7 separate regions of the Homo sapiens genome follow, and regions 1, 2, 3, 4, 6 and 7 are each linked to region 5. Evidence: promoter capture Hi-C in 16 types of primary human blood cells and fetal thymus (Javierre and others, 2016). All regions are on one chromosome and are shown on one strand. Each heading gives the region's core, a stretch centred on a gene start or on the middle of the fragment in contact. The rest is flanking DNA. Distances are from core to core; before and after follow the strand shown.

Evidence for each region. The method cuts DNA at HindIII sites, captures the fragments that hold promoters and counts their contacts. A CHiCAGO score of 5 or more calls a contact.
Region 1: a contact is called between a fragment that was not itself captured here and the fragment with the promoter of QNG1 in region 5, in 4 of 17 cell types (non-activated CD4 T cells, total CD8 T cells, total B cells and 1 more). The highest score is 7.8, in non-activated CD4 T cells.
Region 2: a fragment that was not itself captured here is called in contact with the fragment with the promoter of QNG1 in region 5 in 1 of 17 cell types (activated CD4 T cells); the score reaches 5.1 in activated CD4 T cells.
Region 3: a fragment that was not itself captured here is called in contact with the fragment with the promoter of QNG1 in region 5 in 5 of 17 cell types (M0 macrophages, neutrophils, erythroblasts and 2 more); the score reaches 7.1 in M0 macrophages.
Region 4: a contact is called between a fragment that was not itself captured here and the fragment with the promoter of QNG1 in region 5, in 3 of 17 cell types (naive CD8 T cells, non-activated CD4 T cells and total CD4 T cells). The highest score is 8.1, in naive CD8 T cells.
Region 6: a contact is called between a fragment that was not itself captured here and the fragment with the promoter of QNG1 in region 5, in 5 of 17 cell types (M2 macrophages, M0 macrophages, neutrophils and 2 more). The highest score is 8.0, in M2 macrophages.
Region 7: a fragment that was not itself captured here is called in contact with the fragment with the promoter of QNG1 in region 5 in 2 of 17 cell types (M2 macrophages and neutrophils); the score reaches 7.0 in M2 macrophages.

What each region holds. Positions count from the first base shown.
Region 1 is chr9:83,660,886-83,663,585 of GRCh38, reverse strand. It overlaps UBQLN1 (ubiquilin 1), which reads left to right. Exons shown (of 11, transcript NM_013438.5): 11 at 1,647-2,700. The coding sequence ends at 1,799. Among named protein-coding and RNA genes, the nearest start is that of IDNK, 39 kb to the right of the region's middle. The HindIII fragment of the contact is 210 bases long and covers 1,188-1,397 here.
Region 2 is chr9:83,632,087-83,634,786 of GRCh38, reverse strand. The region is part of intron 3 of IDNK (IDNK gluconokinase); the gene reads right to left. Among named protein-coding and RNA genes, the nearest start is that of IDNK, 10 kb to the right of the region's middle. The HindIII fragment of the contact is 1,704 bases long and covers 406-2,109 here.
Region 3 is chr9:84,349,443-84,352,142 of GRCh38, reverse strand. It overlaps a transcript of SLC28A3 not described here. Among named protein-coding and RNA genes, the nearest start is that of SLC28A3, 10 kb to the right of the region's middle. The HindIII fragment of the contact is 4,870 bases long and covers 1-2,700 here.
Region 4 is chr9:83,611,381-83,614,080 of GRCh38, reverse strand. No RefSeq gene overlaps it. Among named protein-coding and RNA genes, the nearest start is that of IDNK, 10 kb to the left of the region's middle. The HindIII fragment of the contact is 2,666 bases long and covers 90-2,700 here.
Region 5 is chr9:83,955,314-83,958,030 of GRCh38, reverse strand. QNG1 (Q-nucleotide N-glycosylase 1) reads left to right here and starts at 1,289. Exons shown (of 4, transcript NM_032307.5): 1 at 1,289-1,867; 2 at 2,391-2,650. The coding sequence starts at 1,531. The HindIII fragment of the contact is 8,080 bases long and covers 1-2,717 here.
Region 6 is chr9:84,379,925-84,382,624 of GRCh38, reverse strand. No RefSeq gene overlaps it. Among named protein-coding and RNA genes, the nearest start is that of SLC28A3, 41 kb to the right of the region's middle. The HindIII fragment of the contact is 6,565 bases long and covers 1-2,700 here.
Region 7 is chr9:84,396,843-84,399,542 of GRCh38, reverse strand. No RefSeq gene overlaps it. Among named protein-coding and RNA genes, the nearest start is that of SLC28A3, 57 kb to the right of the region's middle. The HindIII fragment of the contact is 7,909 bases long and covers 1-2,700 here.

The DNA.
Region 1 (2,700 bases), core at 43-2,542, 290 kb after region 5:
ATTTGAAAATCATTTGAAATAGATTTTGCTTTAAAAAAGTTCTTAGGGAGGAATGGAAACTTGATTATCCCAAGTACCTCCAGGGCAGCTGTATTCTAGTCTGTCTTTTGACTGGAAAAAAGTCCTAACTACCTTAACTCCACCCATGACACCACCTCCTGCGGTAGCTTGTGTTACATATATATATATCTCGTAAATATGGCTAAAGAATATGGACCCCCTAATAATGTGGTTGCATCTACAAACATACATTGGTTTTACTAATAATGTGCCATTATATAAAGATGATCGCCAGTTTAAACCTGTTTTATTAGGTTGTCCCCAAACTTCTTAATGTCTCAAGGTCTGTTAGGTGCTTTCTGTTTTCTTTTCTGGGTTTCTTTTTTCTTTCCCTTTCTCCTTTCCCCTTTCCTTTTCCTCCTTCCTCTTCCCCTTTCCCTTTTCCCTTTCCTCTTCCCCTTCCCCCTTTCCCCTTTTTCCTCTTTCCCCTCTTTGCCTTTCCCTTTTTTTTTTTTCTTTCCCTTTCCCTTTTGACAAAGTGCCCAGGCTGGATGCAATCACAGCTCACTGCGACCTGCACCTCCTGGGCTGCAGCAATCCTCCCACCTTAGCCTCTGGAGTAGCTGGGATTACAGGCGCAGACCACCACACCTGGCTAATTTTTGTATTTTTTGTAGAGCTGGGGTTTCAACCGTGTTGCCCAGGTTGGTCTCAAACTCCTGAGCTCAAGCGATCTCACCCGCCTTGGCCTCCCAAAGTGCTGGGATTACAGGCGTGAGCCTGGCCTGCTTTCTGTTTTCAAGCCTTACTAAATATAATAAATAGGGTAGGGTTCTGTCTCATACATATCTGTATTCCTGATAAGCTAGCGTAGCATAGTTTCTGGCTCTTGGTAGGTACTCAGTAAATATTCATGGAATAAATAAGAAAGAAGGATTTGGAGTATTAGAATTAATTGTGACATAAGTTAACTTACAAGCCTCCAAATTATCAGGTAGGCCTAGGATTGATTGGTCATTTATATGGAGATTTTTTTTTTTAACTTCATTTCTGAAGAAAAGATTTGATGCTGCTGAAATGTCAGAATTAAGAGTATAATTTTGGGCCTGAAACTGAAGCTCTTTTCTAAGAATTGACTGTCCAGTGCAAAAATTAAACTCACATTCATTCGAAGAATCATTGAAGCTTTAGAATTTTATACATGAGGATACCAGCTTTTATAGTTACTCAATTGGTCAGTAGCTACACAAATCATCTAATTCTGAACTATCTGTGTGTGTGTGTGTGTGTGTGTGTGTGTGTGTGTGTGTGTATATGTATATGTATATACACACACACATACAGGTTTTTCTGCATGTACGTGATCCTCTAAAATAATGGTTGATGTTTATTAAGCTTTTCTCCCCCTCCCCTAAAGTAGAGTCGTGATCTATTTGACATGATTATTTAGGTACAAACTAGACTATTTAAAATAAACTGCTAATGGACTTTTAAATATGTTGGATAAGTTTCAAGAGGTGGGCAGTGTTTTTAAAGCTCAGTAGATCAGCATATGTTATAAAAAAGCAATTAAAAAATTTTAAAAGTCATGTGTGGCAGGGACTGGCTTCCTTTAGAGTTGGATTAATTTTTTTTTTCTTTAATAGCTACAGAATCCAGAAGTCAGATTTCAGCAACAACTGGAACAACTCAGTGCAATGGGATTTTTGAACCGTGAAGCAAACTTGCAAGCTCTAATAGCAACAGGAGGTGATATCAATGCAGCTATTGAAAGGTTACTGGGCTCCCAGCCATCATAGCAGCATTTCTGTATCTTGAAAAAATGTAATTTATTTTTGATAACGGCTCTTAAACTTTAAAATACCTGCTTTATTTCATTTTGACTCTTGGAATTCTGTGCTGTTATAAACAAACCCAATATGATGCATTTTAAGGTGGAGTACAGTAAGATGTGTGGGTTTTTCTGTATTTTTCTTTTCTGGAACAGTGGGAATTAAGGCTACTGCATGCATCACTTCTGCATTTATTGTAATTTTTTAAAAACATCACCTTTTATAGTTGGGTGACCAGATTTTGTCCTGCATCTGTCCAGTTTATTTGCTTTTTAAACATTAGCCTATGGTAGTAATTTATGTAGAATAAAAGCATTAAAAAGAAGCAAATCATTTGCACTCTATAATTTGTGGTACAGTATTGCTTATTGTGACTTTGGCATGCATTTTTGCAAACAATGCTGTAAGATTTATACTACTGATAATTTTGTTTTATTTGTATACAATATAGAGTATGCACATTTGGGACTGCATTTCTGGAAACATACTGCAATAGGCTCTCTGAGCAAAACACCTGTAACTAAAAAAGTGAAGATAAGAAAATACTCTTAAAGCTGAGTATTTCCTAATTGTATAGAATCTTACAGCATCTTTGACAAACATCTCCCAGCAAAAGTGCCGGTTAGTCAGGTTTGTTGAAAATACAGTAGAAAAGCTGATTCTGGTTATCTCTTTAAGGACAATTAATTGTACAGACACATAATGTAACATTGTCTCAACATTCATTCACAGATTGACTGTAAATTACCTTAATCTTTGTGCAGACTGAAGGAACACTGTAGTATACCCCAAAGTGCATTTGCCTAGGACTTCTCAGCTTCTCCCATAGGTAGTTTAACAGGCATTAAAATTTGTAATTGAAATGTTG
Region 2 (2,700 bases), core at 8-2,507, 320 kb after region 5:
TACCAGAATTTCTTTCTTATTAGCAGAGGCACAAACTTGCATTTTGCTATTTTGCTCAGATTGTACATTCCGCCATTCCATCTGCACAAATATTTCTATTTGCTTGTGCTGTGGAAATGGAGATCAATCTCTGTATTATTTTATGGCTTAGGAAACAAATATACTTTTCATTAAGCTGAGTGTTGACTATCTTATTCATTATACTTTCTATGTGCCTGAAATATTTCATAAGAATGAAACAAACAAAAATTACAGAAAACATATTTGGGTAATAAGTTTTCTATCTTGTGTACAAAGAAATAGAGCTTTACTTTGAATACATGTTTTTTCATTGTTTTAATAGTGCCTTAATGGATGCTTTAGTCAATAATAAAGCACACTGCTTCATCTAGTCATAATAAAGCTTTTCAGAATCTCAACTATGAAAGCCATAATAAACATAAATATAAAACTATTTAAACAAAAATAGGTGCTTTTAGACATCCACCTTATCGGAATTTATGGCAGACCAGATTAATGACCATGCACCAGTAAGGACTGTGTCCATCAGTCATAAAAACAATAGAGAGGGTTGGAAATAAAAGAGCAGCACTTTGAACATTATTCCTGAAATTTCCAAATAGTGAATCATAATTAAATGATTATGAATTTTCTTTGGAGATTCCCATAAAGCCACAAGGAGAAAGGTTTTTTCCAAGGCAGCGCCAGTGTAGAAATTCAAGTTCTAGTGCCTGACCTGCTTTAAGCCAGGCTACCATGTCAGTGCCGTCATGACCACCCTTTAAGTCAGTGCCTCAGACATCTTTAAGGCCTAACCCCTACCATGGATGTGCTTGTGGGGAACTGCCCCTCTCATTCCTGCTGTCATTCTCACCCTCTGTCTAACCCTTTTCTCTCAATTTAACAAACCTTGATTCACTTCTTGTGAATCATTTGTTTAATGGTTGGATGATCAGGGCCTTTAACACAGTAGGAGAAGTATGATCTTTGAAGTTAGAAAGACTCCCTTTGCTGTGTGGCTTTGCTCAAGTTACTTAATTTCTCTGCACCTCTCTTTGTTCATTTGTAAAGTGGGGATCGTATATAATTCATTGAGCTGCTCTGGGATTTAAATAAGAAAAGGAATAAACTATTTTTTGGTTGATTTAACAGTTGAAATAAACAGTACTTATTTCCAACTCTGAATTTTTGAAAGAGTTTAAATTCATGAATTTGGTAGGCACTGGGCCTTAATTCCACAAACATTAAATGTGGTGCAAAGCACCATACTGAGTGAGCACTGGGGATAAATATGAATGGTGTGGTTCCTGTCCTCAAAGAGAAGAGGCAAATGAGTAATCTATTAAGTCACCTGCAGGGCAGTGATGAGGGCTGTGGGAGATATACTAAGAAGGGCTATGATAACACAGCAGGAGGACAGGCCAATCTTCTTTTATTTTTTTATTTTTGAGATGTAGTCTTGCTCTGTCACCCAGGCTGGAGTGCAGTGGTGTGATCTTGGCTCACTGCAAGCTCCACCTCCTGGGTTCACGCCATTCTCCCGCCTCAGCCTCCCGAGTAGCTGGGACTACAGGCGCCTGCCACCACGCCCGGCTAATTTTGTGTATTTTTAGTAGAGACGGGATTTCACCGTGTTAGCCAGGATGGTCTCGATCTCCTGACCTTGTGATCTGCCCGCCTCGGCCTCCCAAAGTGCTGGGATTACAGGCGTGAGCCACTGCGCCTGGAGGACAGGCCAATCTTGATCAGGCCTTGGAAAGAGTAAATCTTAAAAGATAAAGATAATTTCAAGACCTTGACTGGCCTGCTAAGGAGTGTGGACCTTATTGTAAAGGTGCTAGGAAGGACCTAGACACATGAGCTCCAAATTTTATGTTCATAATGAAGAAAGGGGGGAATTGAGATCTCTCTACAGTGAAGAAATTGGAAGAAGGAGATATTAGAGCAAATTCACTGAGCTCTATGCCTTCCAGACAGTTACTGTGGACAATATAATAAGTTATGAAAATCAAACACACAGAAGTTTTAGAGGAAAGAAATGAGACAATCCAAATTAGCATCTCTGCCTATGGCTCTGATGTTCAAGGTTTTCACACTCCAGATCAAGCTTGTACAACACACAGCCCGCAAACCCTACTGCGGCTTTGAATGTGGCCCAACATAAATTTGTAAACTTCCTTAAAACATGAGATTTTTTTTGTGATTTTTTTTTTTTTTTTTTTTTTTTTTGCTCATCAGCTATCGTTAATGTTAGTGTATTTTATGTGTGGCCCAAGACAATTCTTCTTCCAGTGTGGCCCAGGGAAGCCAAACGACTGGACACCCCTGCTCTAGATAGTCCCTACACGCAAAGATGGGGAAGGCAGTGCACTCCCGACTCCCAGCCCAGTGCTCGGAGGTGAGCACAATGAATGCTCTACGAAGAGTGAAATCAGAATGTCATGAGGCTAGAGAAAGCTTTCTTGGCCTATGGAAACATCTTGAGAAATTAAATGTCTTTTGGAAGGGGATGATGGGTAAAGAGAGAACAGATAATGGTAGAATATGGGTGGAGAGAGACGGGAAGGAAGATGGGGAGTGGGAATGGCGGGGAGATGGGTGTGTTTTACCTGATGCAAAAGTTAAGTATATAGAATGTTATATACTGACCCCCTCCATGAAAAAGAAGAATTCCAAAATTCAATTCATAGATATTTTTGG
Region 3 (2,700 bases), core at 24-2,523, 390 kb before region 5:
ATAATATATAGTTTGAGACCATTTCACTATCCACATACATAACTTATTAAAAAAATGCTAAATGTATATGTTTACATATATGAATAATTCAAAAAGCATCTCTTTTTGTAACTTTTTGTTTTCATATAATGTTAAATTTGTAGAAAAGATCCAAGAATAATGCAAAAAACTCTCATTACAGTTTCACCATTAGCGTCTTGCCTCATTTGTTTTATTTATTCTCTCTCATACTCATATACATTTACATGTTTTTTTTTTTTCCTGAACCCTTTGGGAGTAAAATCACAGACATTATATCACTTTATTCCTAAATACTCCAACGTGTATTTCCTAAGGACATTCTCTTACATAACCACAATACAATTATCAAGATCAGGAAATTTAATATTGATACATTACTTTTACCAAATTCAACTTTTGCCAATTGTCCCTACGTTGTCTTTTTTTTTTTAATTTAATTTAATTTAATTTAATTTTTTTTTTGAGATGGAGTCTCACTCTGTCATCCAGGCTGGAGTGCAGTGGTGCAATCACAACTCACTGCAGCCTTGACCTCCTGGGGCTCAGGTGATCTTCTCACTTCAGCCTCCTGAGTAGCTGGTACTATAGGCGCATGCCACCATGCCCAACTAATTTTTTCCATTTTTTAAGATTTGGGGTTTTACCATGTTGCCCAGGTTGGTCTCAGACTCCTGGGCTCAAGCAATCAGCCCATCTCTGCCTCACAAAGTGCTGGGATTACAGGCATGAGCCACTGCACCCAGCCTCTGCATTTTCTCTGAACATTGCAGGCAGATACTAATAAAGTCATGTACCTTGAAACATCATTTTAGTCAACAAGAGACCTCATATACAATAGTAGTCTCATAAGATTATAATGGAGCTGAAAAAATTTTATCACGTAGTGACATCTTGATGATCCTGACCCTGTGTAGGCCTAGACTAATATGTGGGTGTTTATGCTGTAGTATTTAGCAAAGAAGTTTAAAAAGTTATATATATGCTGATAGAATAAGACTATAAAGAAAATATTTTTGTATAGCCATACAATGTATTTGCATTTGCATTTTAAGCTAGGTTTTATTACAAGAGTCAAGAAATTTTAAAAATGAGAACATTTATAAGGTAAAAAAGTTGACTGGGCACCGTTGCTCATGCCTGTAATCCCAGCACTTTGGGAGGCTGAGGTGGGAGGATCACTTGAGGTCAGGATATACCAGCCTGGCCAAGAGGGTGAAACCACCTCTACTAAAAATACAAAAATCAGCCAGACGTGGTGGTGCGTGCCTGTAGTCACAGCTACCTGGGAGGCTGAGGCACAAGAATTGCTTGAACCCAGGGAGGTGGAGGTTGCAGTGAGCCAAGATCGCACCACTGTGCTCCAGCCTGGGTGACAGAGCAACACTCTGTCTCAGAAAAAAGTTATGGTGAGCTAAGATTAATTTCTTATTGAATAAAGAAAATTTTTAAATAAATTTGGTGTAACCTAAGTGTATAATGTTTATATAAAGTCTACATTATTGAACAGTAATGCCCTAGGCCTTAACATTAACTCACCACTAACTCACTGACTCACCTAGAACCTAGTCCTGTAAGTTCCATCCATGGTAAGTGCCCTATAGAGGTGTACCATTATTTATTTATTTATTATTTTTCATTTTTTATTTTTATACCTATTTATTTATTTATTTATTTATTTTTGAGACCTGGTTTCACTCTTGTTGCCCAGGCTGGAGTGCAATGACGCAATCTTGGCTCACTGCAAACTCTGCCTCCTGGTTCAAGCGATTCCCCTGCCTCAGCCTCCCGAGTAGCTGGGATTACAGGCATGCACCACCACACCCGGCTAATTTTTGTATTTTTAGTAGAGACGTGGTTTCACCACATTAGTCAGGCTGGTCTTGAACTCCAGACCTCAGGTGATCCACCTGCCTTGGCCTCCCAAAGTTGCTGGGATTACAGGCATGAGCCACCGTGCCGGGCCTACCATATTTTTTACTATACCTTTTCTATGTTTAGATATATTTAAATGCACAAATACTTACCATTTTGTTATAATTGCCTACAGTATTCAGCACAGTAACATGCTGTACAGGTTTGTAGTCTAGGAGCCACAGGCTATACCATATAACCTAGGTGTGTTTTAGGCTATACCATCTGGATTTGTGTAAATACACTCTGTGATGTTTGCATGATGAAAAAACTGCCTAAGGACTCATTTCTCAGAATGTATCCCCATTGTTAAGTAACACATGGCTGTGTTATTAAAAAAGATTGTCATCTCTGGAAATCTTCCAGACTCAAGAATGCACTTCCTGGAAGATTCTTGTTTATCCATAAGTTGCATGTTGCCATTCTGCCATTCCTATAACCCATATCAATGTTTGTTCTTTGCTCCCTTCGTGAACCTCATTCAACCACATGTAATGGTAACATACTTACCCTACTGAACACTGACAGAGCCCTAGAGGCTCAACTCAAGGTTTTCAAAAAACTGGCTACTGACAGGTTTCCCATGGACCCGTGAGTGTATGGATGCTGTCTTAGTCTGTTTTCTGCTGTCATAACAGAATTCTACATAATGGGTAATTTATAAAAAACAAGTAAGCCGGACGTGGTGGCTGATGCCTGTAATCCCAACATTTTGGGAGGCCAAGGCGGACAGATCACTTGAAGTCAGGAGTTCAAGACCAGCTTGGC
Region 4 (2,700 bases), core at 173-2,672, 340 kb after region 5:
AATAAAATTATGAGGTACCATGTACATACGAAGCAAACTGGAAAAATACAAAGTGGAACAGTACCAAATGCTGGCTGGGGTGTGAAGCTTGAAGACACTCGTCCTCTGCTGAAGGAAATGTAAACTGTTATCACTGCTCTGGAAAAAACAGTTTCGCCTGATAGAGTAAAACTGAATATGCACATATCCTATTAGGTTAGTGCCATTACTTTTTTTTAAAATTAATTACTTTTTAAAATTTTACTTTAAGTTCTGGAATACAGGTACTGAATGCGCAGGTTTGTTACATAGGTATACATGTGCCATGGTGGTTTGTTGCACCTATCAACCGGTCATCTAGGTTTTAAGCCTCGCATGCATTAGGTATTTGTCTTAATGCTCTCCCTCTGCTTGCCCCCCACTCCGCCCAACAGGCCCCAGTGTGTGATGTTCCCTTCCCTGTGTCCATGTGTTCTCACTGTTCAACTTCCACTTGTGAGTGGGAACATACAGTGTTTGGTTTTCTGTTCTTGTGTTAGTTTGCTGAGGATGATGGTTTCCAGCTTCATCCATGTCCCTGCAAAGACATGAACTCATTCTTTTTTATGGCTGCATAGTATTCCATGGTGTATATGTGCCACATTTTCTTAATCCCGTCTATCACTGATGGGCATTTGGGTTGGTTCCAAGTCTTTGCTATTGTAAATAGTGCTGCAATAAAGATACGTGTGCATGTGTCTTTATAGTGGCATAATTTATAATCCTTTGGGTATATACCCAGTAATGGGATTGCTGGGTCAAATGGTATTTCTAGTTCTAGATCCTTGAGGAATCGCCACACTGTCTTCCACAATGGTTGAACTAATTTACACTCCCACCAACAGTGTAAAAGCGTTCCTATTTCTCCACATCCTCTCCAGCATCTGTTGTTTCCTAACTTTTTAATGATCGCCATTCTAACTGGCATGAGATGGTATTGCATTGTGGCTTTGATTTGCATTTCTCTGATGACCAGTGATGACGAGCATTTTTTCATATGTCTGTTGGCTGCATAAATGTCTTCTTTGGAGAAGCGTCTGTTCATATCCTTTGCCCACTTTTTGATGAGATTGTTTGTTTTTCTCTTGTAAATTTGTTTATGTTCTTTGTAGATTCTGGATATTAGCCCTTTGTCAGATGGATAGATTGCAAAATTTTTCTCCCATTCTGTAGGTTGCCTGTTCACTCTGATGACAGTTTCTTTTGCTGTGCAGAAGCTCTTTAGTATAATTAGATCTCATTTGTCAATTTTGGCTTTTGTTGCCATTGCTTTTGGTGTTTTAATCATGAAGTCTTTGTCCATGCCTATGTCCTGAATGGTAATGCCTAGGTTTTCTTCTAGGGTTTTTATGGTTTTAGGTCTTACATTTAAGTCTTTAAGCCATCTTGAGTTAATTTTTGTGTAAGTTGTAAGGAAGGGGTCCAGTTTCAGTTTTCTGCATATGGGCTAGTCAGTTTTCCCAGCCATTTATTAAATAGGAAATCCTTTCCCCGTTGCTTGCTTTTGTCAGGTCTGTTGAAGATTAGATGGTTGTAGATGTGTGGTGTTATTTCTGAGTTCTCTGGTCTGTTCCTTTGGTCTATATATCTAAAAACTGCAATCAAATACAATTCTGCAATTCCCTTCCTAGGTCTATATATCTAAAAACTGCAATCAAATACAATTCTGCAATTCCCTTCCTAGGTTTATACACCAGGAAACACGTACGCAAATGTGCAAGAAGTCTTGTTCACAATACTCTCGAATTGGAAATAATCTGAATATCTATCAGTGGTGAAGTGGTTTTATAAGTCATGTCATATTCAAACAAGGGAGCCCTGTACAACAAATAAAATGAGTAAACTACAGCTACAAAAGCATATCAAAGCCATATTGCTGATTGTAAGAATACAATCCGTATGATCCTCAATTACAGAAAATTTAAAAACAAGAAAATTAAGCAATACATTTGTAGTTAAAAGACACACACACACACACACACACACACACACACACACTAAAACTATGCAGAGAAGAAAAGAATGATTAACCTAAAATTCAAAACGAAAGCTCTTGGAAGAGGCACCAAATGTCCTCTAGTGAACTGGTAATGTTCTATTTCTTAGCCTAGATATTGATTACACAGATGTTTATCTATTCTTTTATTTCAAGCTGTACATGTAGATTTTATATACTTCTTTGTGTGTAATGTATCACACACACACTTAACTGGGATCTTCCCTGCCTAATTTACGGGTGCCGGCAGCAGTGAGCGACCCAGGAAAGTGTCCCCTGCAGGCAAAGCAGGAATGAATAATGTCTGGTATGCTAGAAATCTAAATTGATCTCGACCTTCCTCTCCTCCAGCTTGATTTATTCCCTAACTGGCCGCTAGTGTTTCTGCTGACATTGCACTTGCTGATAACTATCTCGGACACCAATGACATTGCATAATACTCCTTCACAGGTGTTAGTATGTGAATACTTGCCACTAAATAAGAGTTACATTTTATTAAAAAAAATTAAGTCCACTTTAAAACAAAACAAAATAAAAATGCCCTTTAGTATGTCTTTGACAGAGTATGTCCTTATCTCCTCTAACAGTGGCCAGTTGATTCAGGCAACACTTTAAATGATGACATGCATTACCTATTATCTTCTTTTCTAATGCGCTTCAAGTACACTTTCTCTCATTCTTTCAT
Region 5 (2,717 bases), core at 40-2,539:
GGAGTTTGAGACCAGCCTGGCCCACATAGGGAAACCCCATCTCTACTAAAAATACAAAAATTAGTCAGGTGTGGTGGCTGACACCTATAATCCCAGCTACTTGGGAAGCTGAGGCAGGGAGAATCACTTGAACCGGGGAGGTGGAGGTTGCAGTGAGCTGAGATCATGCCACTGCACTCCAGCCTGGGCGACAGGGTGAGATTCTGTCTCAAACAAACAAATTTAAAAGCTCCGAATCCTCCAAAAATACCAAGATTTTCCTGTCGGTAACTAGAGATGGGTACTGATGATTATTTTTAATAGGTGATTTTCAAAGATGTGAACGTTATCCATGGAGATTTAAGTCTCCAAAAGGAAAAAAAATGCATACCTTTATACTAAAACTTCATCACCAGTCAAATTTGGATCATCACTAAATTGGCTTCTACACCTCTCTCCTAATATAAGGTACTTGTGTAAGTTTGCAGTTGTGAGACACTTATTTCCTCATTTTTAATGTCTTCTCAGTAGGGCCACTGATATAGTCACTATTTGACTGACCAGAATGGTTGGCACTGGTGATTGGCTCATAAAGTGCCCTCGATTTAGGGGGCTCAATTATCAAAGGTTTAAATCCTAGCCCAAACCATTGCTGTGATGGGGGTTAATCAATGAACCACTCAGCTTCACTTGCAAAAGCGGGATCACAATAGCCGCTTTCGTCATGACCCAGCCTAGGTGAGATTTAGTACTTAAGTACACTGCCAGGCACACAAGGTTAATTTAACAATTTAACACATTTGTTTCCTCATCCATTTCTCCAAACCTTCCAACTAATCCTAACGTTCGTTCGGCCAAATGGGCCAGGAATTCACTTAAACAAAAACAAAAAACAAAACAAACAAAAAAACACTCCCTGGGGCTTGGGGAAGGAGGCACCGCCGCCCATGTCGCAGTCTGGGGGTGGCTCAGTCCTCAGCACCCAGATCTACGGCCATAATGCTCTTCGAGGCCAAGGAGCCCGGATGCGGGGCGTTGCCGAAGGCGTCTTGCTCAGGCTGCGGGAAAGGAGAGGGGTGGGAGCGGGGTGGGGGCATCGCGACCCAGGGCAAGGCGGCGAGTCGCCGTCTTCGAGTCCCACCTGTCCGAAGCGGGGTGAGAAAAGGCAAAACATGGCAAAGCCATGCACCTCCCAGGGTGGGCAACTCACGGCCGGTGAACGCCGGACCCTTAGCAGTTTCCAGACCTTTGGAACCGGAAGCGGAGCCTGAGAGCGCGCCCGAGAGGGCGTGAACGGGACCGCTTTCCCGGAAGTGCTTGCGGCCTCTGCCCAGCGAGCTGCCCCGGGGTCTCTCTGGTTTCCTAATCAGGGCAACGCCGCGGGAGAGAACCTTTACCTTGGCTGCACTAAGTTCTCGGTGCCACTCCCTGGCAGGGCGGGACCTTGTTTAGGCCCTGTGATCGCGCGGTTCGTAGTAGCGCAAGGCGCAGAGTGGACCTTGACCCGCCTAGGGCGGGAAGAGTTTGGCCCGCCGGGTCCCAAAGGGCAGAATGGACGGGCTCCTAAATCCCAGGGAATCCTCTAAATTCATTGCAGAAAACAGTCGGGATGTGTTTATTGACAGCGGAGGCGTACGGAGGGTGGCAGAGCTGCTGCTGGCCAAGGCGGCGGGGCCAGAGCTGCGCGTGGAGGGGTGGAAAGCCCTTCATGAGCTGAACCCCAGGGCGGCCGACGAGGCCGCGGTCAACTGGGTGTTCGTGACAGACACGCTCAACTTCTCCTTTTGGTCGGAGCAGGACGAGCACAAGTGTGTGGTGAGGTACAGAGGGAAAACATACAGTGGGTACTGGTCCCTGTGCGCCGCCGTCAACAGAGCCCTCGACGAAGGTTGGTGCCATACTTGCCATCGGACCTAACGGCCTTTGAGGTTTCCATTTACTTGGGGTGTGTGTAGGGGAGTTCCAAGGAGCGGGTTGGGAGATGGAATAATGGAAAGCGAACCTGAAGTTCGTTGCAAGTCCTTATGCTTAAAATAGAAGTATGAAAAGGGGCATATTTTAGTGGAAAATGATGTTAATATTTATCATTGCAGCATAAAAGTTACAGTAGCATAAAAGTCAGTTTTATAAAGAATGCCATTTGAATGACACCTGAAGAACAAAAGGACCGATGTTATAAAGCAATTTACTCAGAATACATCTGATGTAATATTGCAATAGTTAGAAATGGGTGAATAAGTACAGATGAACAAGTAGAAAATGAGTTTTGCTTTAGATTTTTTATTCTTCCACTTTTGGTGCATTCCTATACCACTCATTTGGTTTCATATTAATTCCATGTTGTAAAAGCAAGGGTTTAATGCATATGGAAGTATGACATTGGTCCTCTGAATTTTATTTTTTCACTAAAGGGATACCAATAACTAGTGCCTCGTACTACGCGACAGTGACCCTGGATCAGGTTCGGAATATACTTCGTTCTGACACAGACGTTTCCATGCCTTTAGTAGAAGAGAGGCATCGGATTCTCAATGAAACCGGGAAAATTCTGCTGGAGAAGTTTGGAGGCTCTTTTCTCAACTGCGTCCGAGAAAGTGAGAATAGTGCGCAGAAGTTAATGCACCTGGTGGTTGAAAGTTTTCCTTCTTACAGAGATGTGACTCTGTTTGAGGTGAGTTGCTTCTGTTGGGGATTTTAGAAGTCTTAATCATCTCAGAGTTAACTCTTTTACTTCCAGA
Region 6 (2,700 bases), core at 50-2,549, 420 kb before region 5:
TTGGAGGGGAGGGGGGAGGGATAGCATTGGGAGATATACCTAATGCTAGATGACGAGTTAGTGGGTGCAGCGCACCAGCATGGCACATGTATACATATGTAACTAACCTGCACAATGTGCACATGTACCCTAAAACTTAAAGTATAAAAAAAAAAGATATAATACCCATTTTGTAAATGAGAAAACTGAGGTCTGGAGAAGGGACCTGGACATGTCATTTAGCTGTGGATTCAGACTCAGAGCTGCCTGAGTCCAGAGCCCAGGCAATCTGTACACTCTACTACCTCCTTCTATTATTTTTGTAATTGAGACATAACATCCGCATAACGTACACATGTTTACATGTCACTATCACCCAAATCCAGGGACAGAACATTTCCATAGCCCTAGAACCCCCCTGTGGGCTTCCTTCCAGGACAGCCACCCTCCTGCCTCCGGATACCATTGTGTTCTTTCTCGTCCTTCAGCAGACTGCAAGGTGCTCGAGCAGGCACCAGTTAAAATGGGCTTTAAAACCACATGCTCAGCTGGGCACGGTGGCTCACGCCTATAATCCCAGAACTTTGGGAGGCCAAGGCAGGTGGATTGCTTGAGGCCAAGAGTTCAAGACCAGCCCAGCCAACATGGTGAAACCCCGTCTCTACTAAAAATACAAAAATTAGCCAGGCATGTTGGCATGAGCCTGTAGTCCCAGCTACTCGGGAAGCTGAGGCACAAGAATCTCTTGAGCCCAGGATACAGAGGTTGCAGTGAGCCAAGATTGTGCCACTGCACTCCAGCCTAGGCTCGGAGTGAGAATGTCTCACCAAAAAAAAAAAAAAACACACACACTCAAGGAACCTCTGCAGGGAAGCCTCAGCCTGGCCTCTTGGCAACAGCTAAGGTTGTGCCTGGCTGTTGTCAAGATAACACACACTTATTTATCAATGCCAGGTACTGCGTTAGGTGCTAGGCAAGCAGTGATGACAAAGTCAAGTTGGTCCCTGTTCTAAAGTCACTGAGAGTTCAAAGATGAGCTGATATTAAACAACCACACCAAAGTGTATGTGCACAACAGCGGTAAGCAGTGTGGCAGAGCACAGGCTAGTCTGAAAGAAATTTGGGGAGGTCAGGAATGGCCTTGCTAAAGCTGGAAAGTCCCATGGTTGGCATTGACCAGGAGCAGGATTGGGGTCCCTTGGCCAGAAGAAGTGGAATGTGCAAAGGCCCTGAGGGGAGGAGGCATGCACCAAATCACATAGGCCCTAAAAGGAGCTCATGAGGGCCTGAGCATCCCTAAAAGCAAGGAAAAGTCATAGAATTTCCTTCACAAGAGGATGGGATTGGTGACACATCCCTGGGAAGTCACAGAAATGTCAAGGGGGGGACTGGAAGACCTGAAACAGCAAGTAGGAACAAGGTCAGCAAAATGTCACTGAGCAAAATGTCACCTGTGCCCTGGTGTGAGGTGGCCTGAGTAGACACAAGTTACATATGTGACCCACAATCTCAGGTCTTATTTATAGAAAGAGACTGTTCTATAAACAAAGATCAAAGAAAGAGTTTACTCTCCAGGATTGTTTATTGGGAAGAATTTCTTATAACCACATCCAGGAAAGTGTCATCCATCTTGATGCTGGCATTTGCCACCATATTGTTTTTCCTATAAAACTAGTGCTGGTAGGCCGGGCATGGTGGTTCACGCCTGTAATCCCAGCACTTTGGAAGGCTGAGGCAGGCAGATCACCTAGGTCAGGAGTTCGAGACCAGCCTGGCCAACATGGCGAAACCCCATCTCTACTAAAAGTACAAAATTAGCTGGGCATGTTGGTGGCGAAACCCCATCTCTACTAAAAGTACAAAATTAGCTGGGCATGTTGGTGCATGCCTGCAGTCCCAGCTACTCGGGAGGCTGAGGCAGGAGAATCGCCTGAACTTGGGAGGCAGAGGTTGCAGTGAGCCAAGATCGCGCCACTGCACTCCAGCCTGGGTGACAAGAGAGAAACTCTGTCTCAAAAAAAAAAAAAAGAAAAAAAACTAGTGCTGGTAAATGTTTAACAATTGATTCTCCCAAAATAAGTCCCTATGTGTATGCACACATAAACATATGTATATACCTAAGATTATTATAAACTCACTAATATGAAAGATATATAGCACACAATTTACATAAAATAATAAAATATACATACTCTTTATTTTTTAATTTTCTTCTTAAAATATGCATACTCTTTTTTGTTTGTTTATTTGTTTGTTTGTTTGTTTGTTTTTGAGACAGAGTCTTGCTCCGGTCACCCAGGCTGGAGGGCAATGGCGCGATCCCAGCTCACTGCAATCTCTGTCTTCTGGGTTCAAGGGTTCAAGTGATTCTCCTGCCTCAGTCTCCTGAGTAGCTGGGATTACAGGCACCTGCCACCACACCGGGCTAATTTTTGTATTTTTAGTAGAGACAGGCTTTCACCATGTTGCCCAGGCTGGTCTCAAACTCCTGACCTCAGGTGATCCACCAGCCTTGGCATCCCAAAGTGCTGGGATTACAGGCATGAGCCACTGTGCCCAGGCATTAAAATATACATACTCTTTATTGCAATTGCTATGTAGTCAACTGATTCCCACAGAAGGCTTTCATTTATTTTTGCCAAACTCCTCTCCATAGGCAACCTGTGGTTGTAATATGACTCTGATTTGGCAAATGGCAGCTTAACAATCAATTCATGAGAT
Region 7 (2,700 bases), core at 128-2,627, 440 kb before region 5:
TTCTTCCCAAAGTTAGCTTGGCATACGCTCATGAATGACCAAGGACAGCTTGGAGGTCAGAAGTAAGATGGAGTCAACTGTATCAGATTTCTTTTTTTTTTTTTTTTTTTGAGACAGAGTCTCGCTCTTGTTGCCCAGGCTGGAGTGCAATGGCATGATCTCGGCTCACTGCAACATCCGCCTCCCAGGTTCAAGCAATTCTCCTGCCTCAGCCTCCTGAGTAGCTGGGATTACAGGCATGCACCACCACACCCAGCAAATTTTGTATTTTTAGTAGAGATGGGGTTTCTCCATGTTGGTCAGGCTGGTCTCAAACTCCCAACCTCAGGTGATCCGCCCACCTCAGCCTCCCAAAGTGCTGGGATTACAGGCGTGAGCCACCGCGCCTGGACTTAGATTTCTTACCGTCATAATTTTGCAAGAGCAATTTCAATACCAAATGTACAGTAGTCCTGATCCTGTCAAAGGACTCCAGTACTGAGGAAAGGGTGAGCTGAATAATCTCCAAGGCCCCTCTAACTCAGAACCTGTGAGGATCTCAACTTCACTTTTCTGCAGGGCTCTGTGTGTGTTTCAGGCTAAAAAGTTGTGCTATGTTTTAAATGTCCAACCCCTTCAATGGATCTTTGCAAATGCATGTATTGGGAGACATTAGGAGATAACCTCAGAAGCCTAGACCTCAAATCAAATGTCAAAAGACATTTTTGAGCTAATTCTGGAGGAATTTGAGTATGGGTCAGAATTATATGATATTGAGAAGTTATTATTTATTTTCTCTTTTAAAAAACAATTTTAATATTTTTAAAAATATCTTTATTGAGATGGGGTTTTACTATGTTGCCCAGGCTGGTCTTGAACTCCTGGGCTTAAGAAATCCTCCAGCCTCAGCCTCCCAAAATCCTGGGATTGCAGGTATGAGCCACCATGCCCGGCCTGAGAAGTCATTATTAACATGTAATAAAGGCACAGAAGAAATGCCCCATGTAGGCGGAAATGACTAGAAACCTGGATATTTGCCTTTTTCAAGCAAAAATTTCAGCAAAGACAAACACAAAAAATGAAAGTATGATAATTTTTCTATAGCAAAATCTTCTTTTCTCCCCCTTGGCATGTGAATAAGAGCTATGTGGCAAAATCTTGATAATTGTTGAATCTAAGTAGTGGATAAATAAGGATTCATTATACTATTCTCTTTACTTTTGTATATATTTACATTTTTCAATAATAAGAAGAGTTTCGAGTTTACATCTGTGTCCACCCCCCATGGTTATGACATTAGGGTCAAAAGCACCTTCGGAGCCCTCACCCTCACTCCGCATGGGTGGTAAAGGCTGGACTGGAAGGACGGGCCTTACCGGGCACAGCATCTGCTTCCTGGCCCGGGAAGAGCCAGCAACATCTTGAGGAAATAAATGCATACAAAGATCAACAGCTTGAAGGGGTGGATTTCAGGGCCCGTGTGCTTCACAGTGAGTCATCACTTCCACAGTCACAATTTCTCACTTAGAAGGAATCCAAAAAAGCACCCCTAACCATTGGATTCCAAACTTCATTGGGTTCTTCTGGGGTTTATTAAACCCACAGATTCCGGGGCTCCCAACTAGACCCATAGAATAGACTGAGCAGTGGCGGGGCCCCGGAATCTGTGTTAATTTATTTCTCTGGTGATTCTGGGACAGCCCTGAACTGGGGGCCTGGGAGCCTCTGAAGTGGATCAACGTCCCAATCCCACAAAGGAGAACGTGGCCCAGAAGGGCTTTGTAACCGGCCGAAGGTGACATCCCTGCGGCTTCCTCCCTCACTTTTCACAGCCATGCCCTCCCTGAGAGACCCCTCAGAAAGAGTGGGCCCCTGGAAACGCGCCAGCACAGGAAAGAAGACAGCCAAACACTCTCCATGAATGCACGCCCCGTCCTTGGCCTGGGGGACTCGCAGCACCCCTGAGCACCCGTGCCTGGCAGATGCAGCCACGCTCCTTGCCTTCAGGTCCCTCACACGGTGTCAGGCCTAAAGCAGCCCAGCTTCTGCCTCTGATCCGGCCTCTGTGATATTGACCCCTGTCTCCTGCTAAGCAGCTCTTAGATGGGAGATGTTCTAATGGGAAAGAAGACAGGGAGGAGCCAGAGGATATCTGTTACAGCCATTACTTTCCACTCAGGATCCTATTTTGCATCTTCACTCGAGGCCTATAAATTGAACCTTGAGGGCGGGTCCCAGAAATCCGCAGCTAGAAGTTCATAAAACCAGGTCGGGTTGCCTTGGGCCAATTAAAGTGAAACACTGCCACCAAGTGGCCATTCTAGGTCATCACAGGCTGCCAGCTCCTTCCAGAGCACCTGCCTCTCTGCCAGAGACAAACAGCATGACAGAGCAGGTGGGCATGCCCTTCCCTTCTTTTTCTTAAAATTATTTTACTTATATTAATAGAAATACATTCACATGGTATAAAACGCATAAGGTCCAAAGTGGTCCTGGTGGTTGCCTCCAGAGCTAATGTAGATCCAGCTGAATGCCTCGTTAGGGGTCTCCATTAGGTCTTTAACCCTGTTATGCCTGCCATCTCACCAGTATCGTCTGTTGCTCCTTGTCCATAGGGGTTCTGTTCCCAAGTGCCCAGTGCTAACCTGCCTCTTGGAGTTTACTACAAATCTGGGTTGATTCAGCAACACCAAAGACCTGAGGCTAAATAAATTCTGCAAC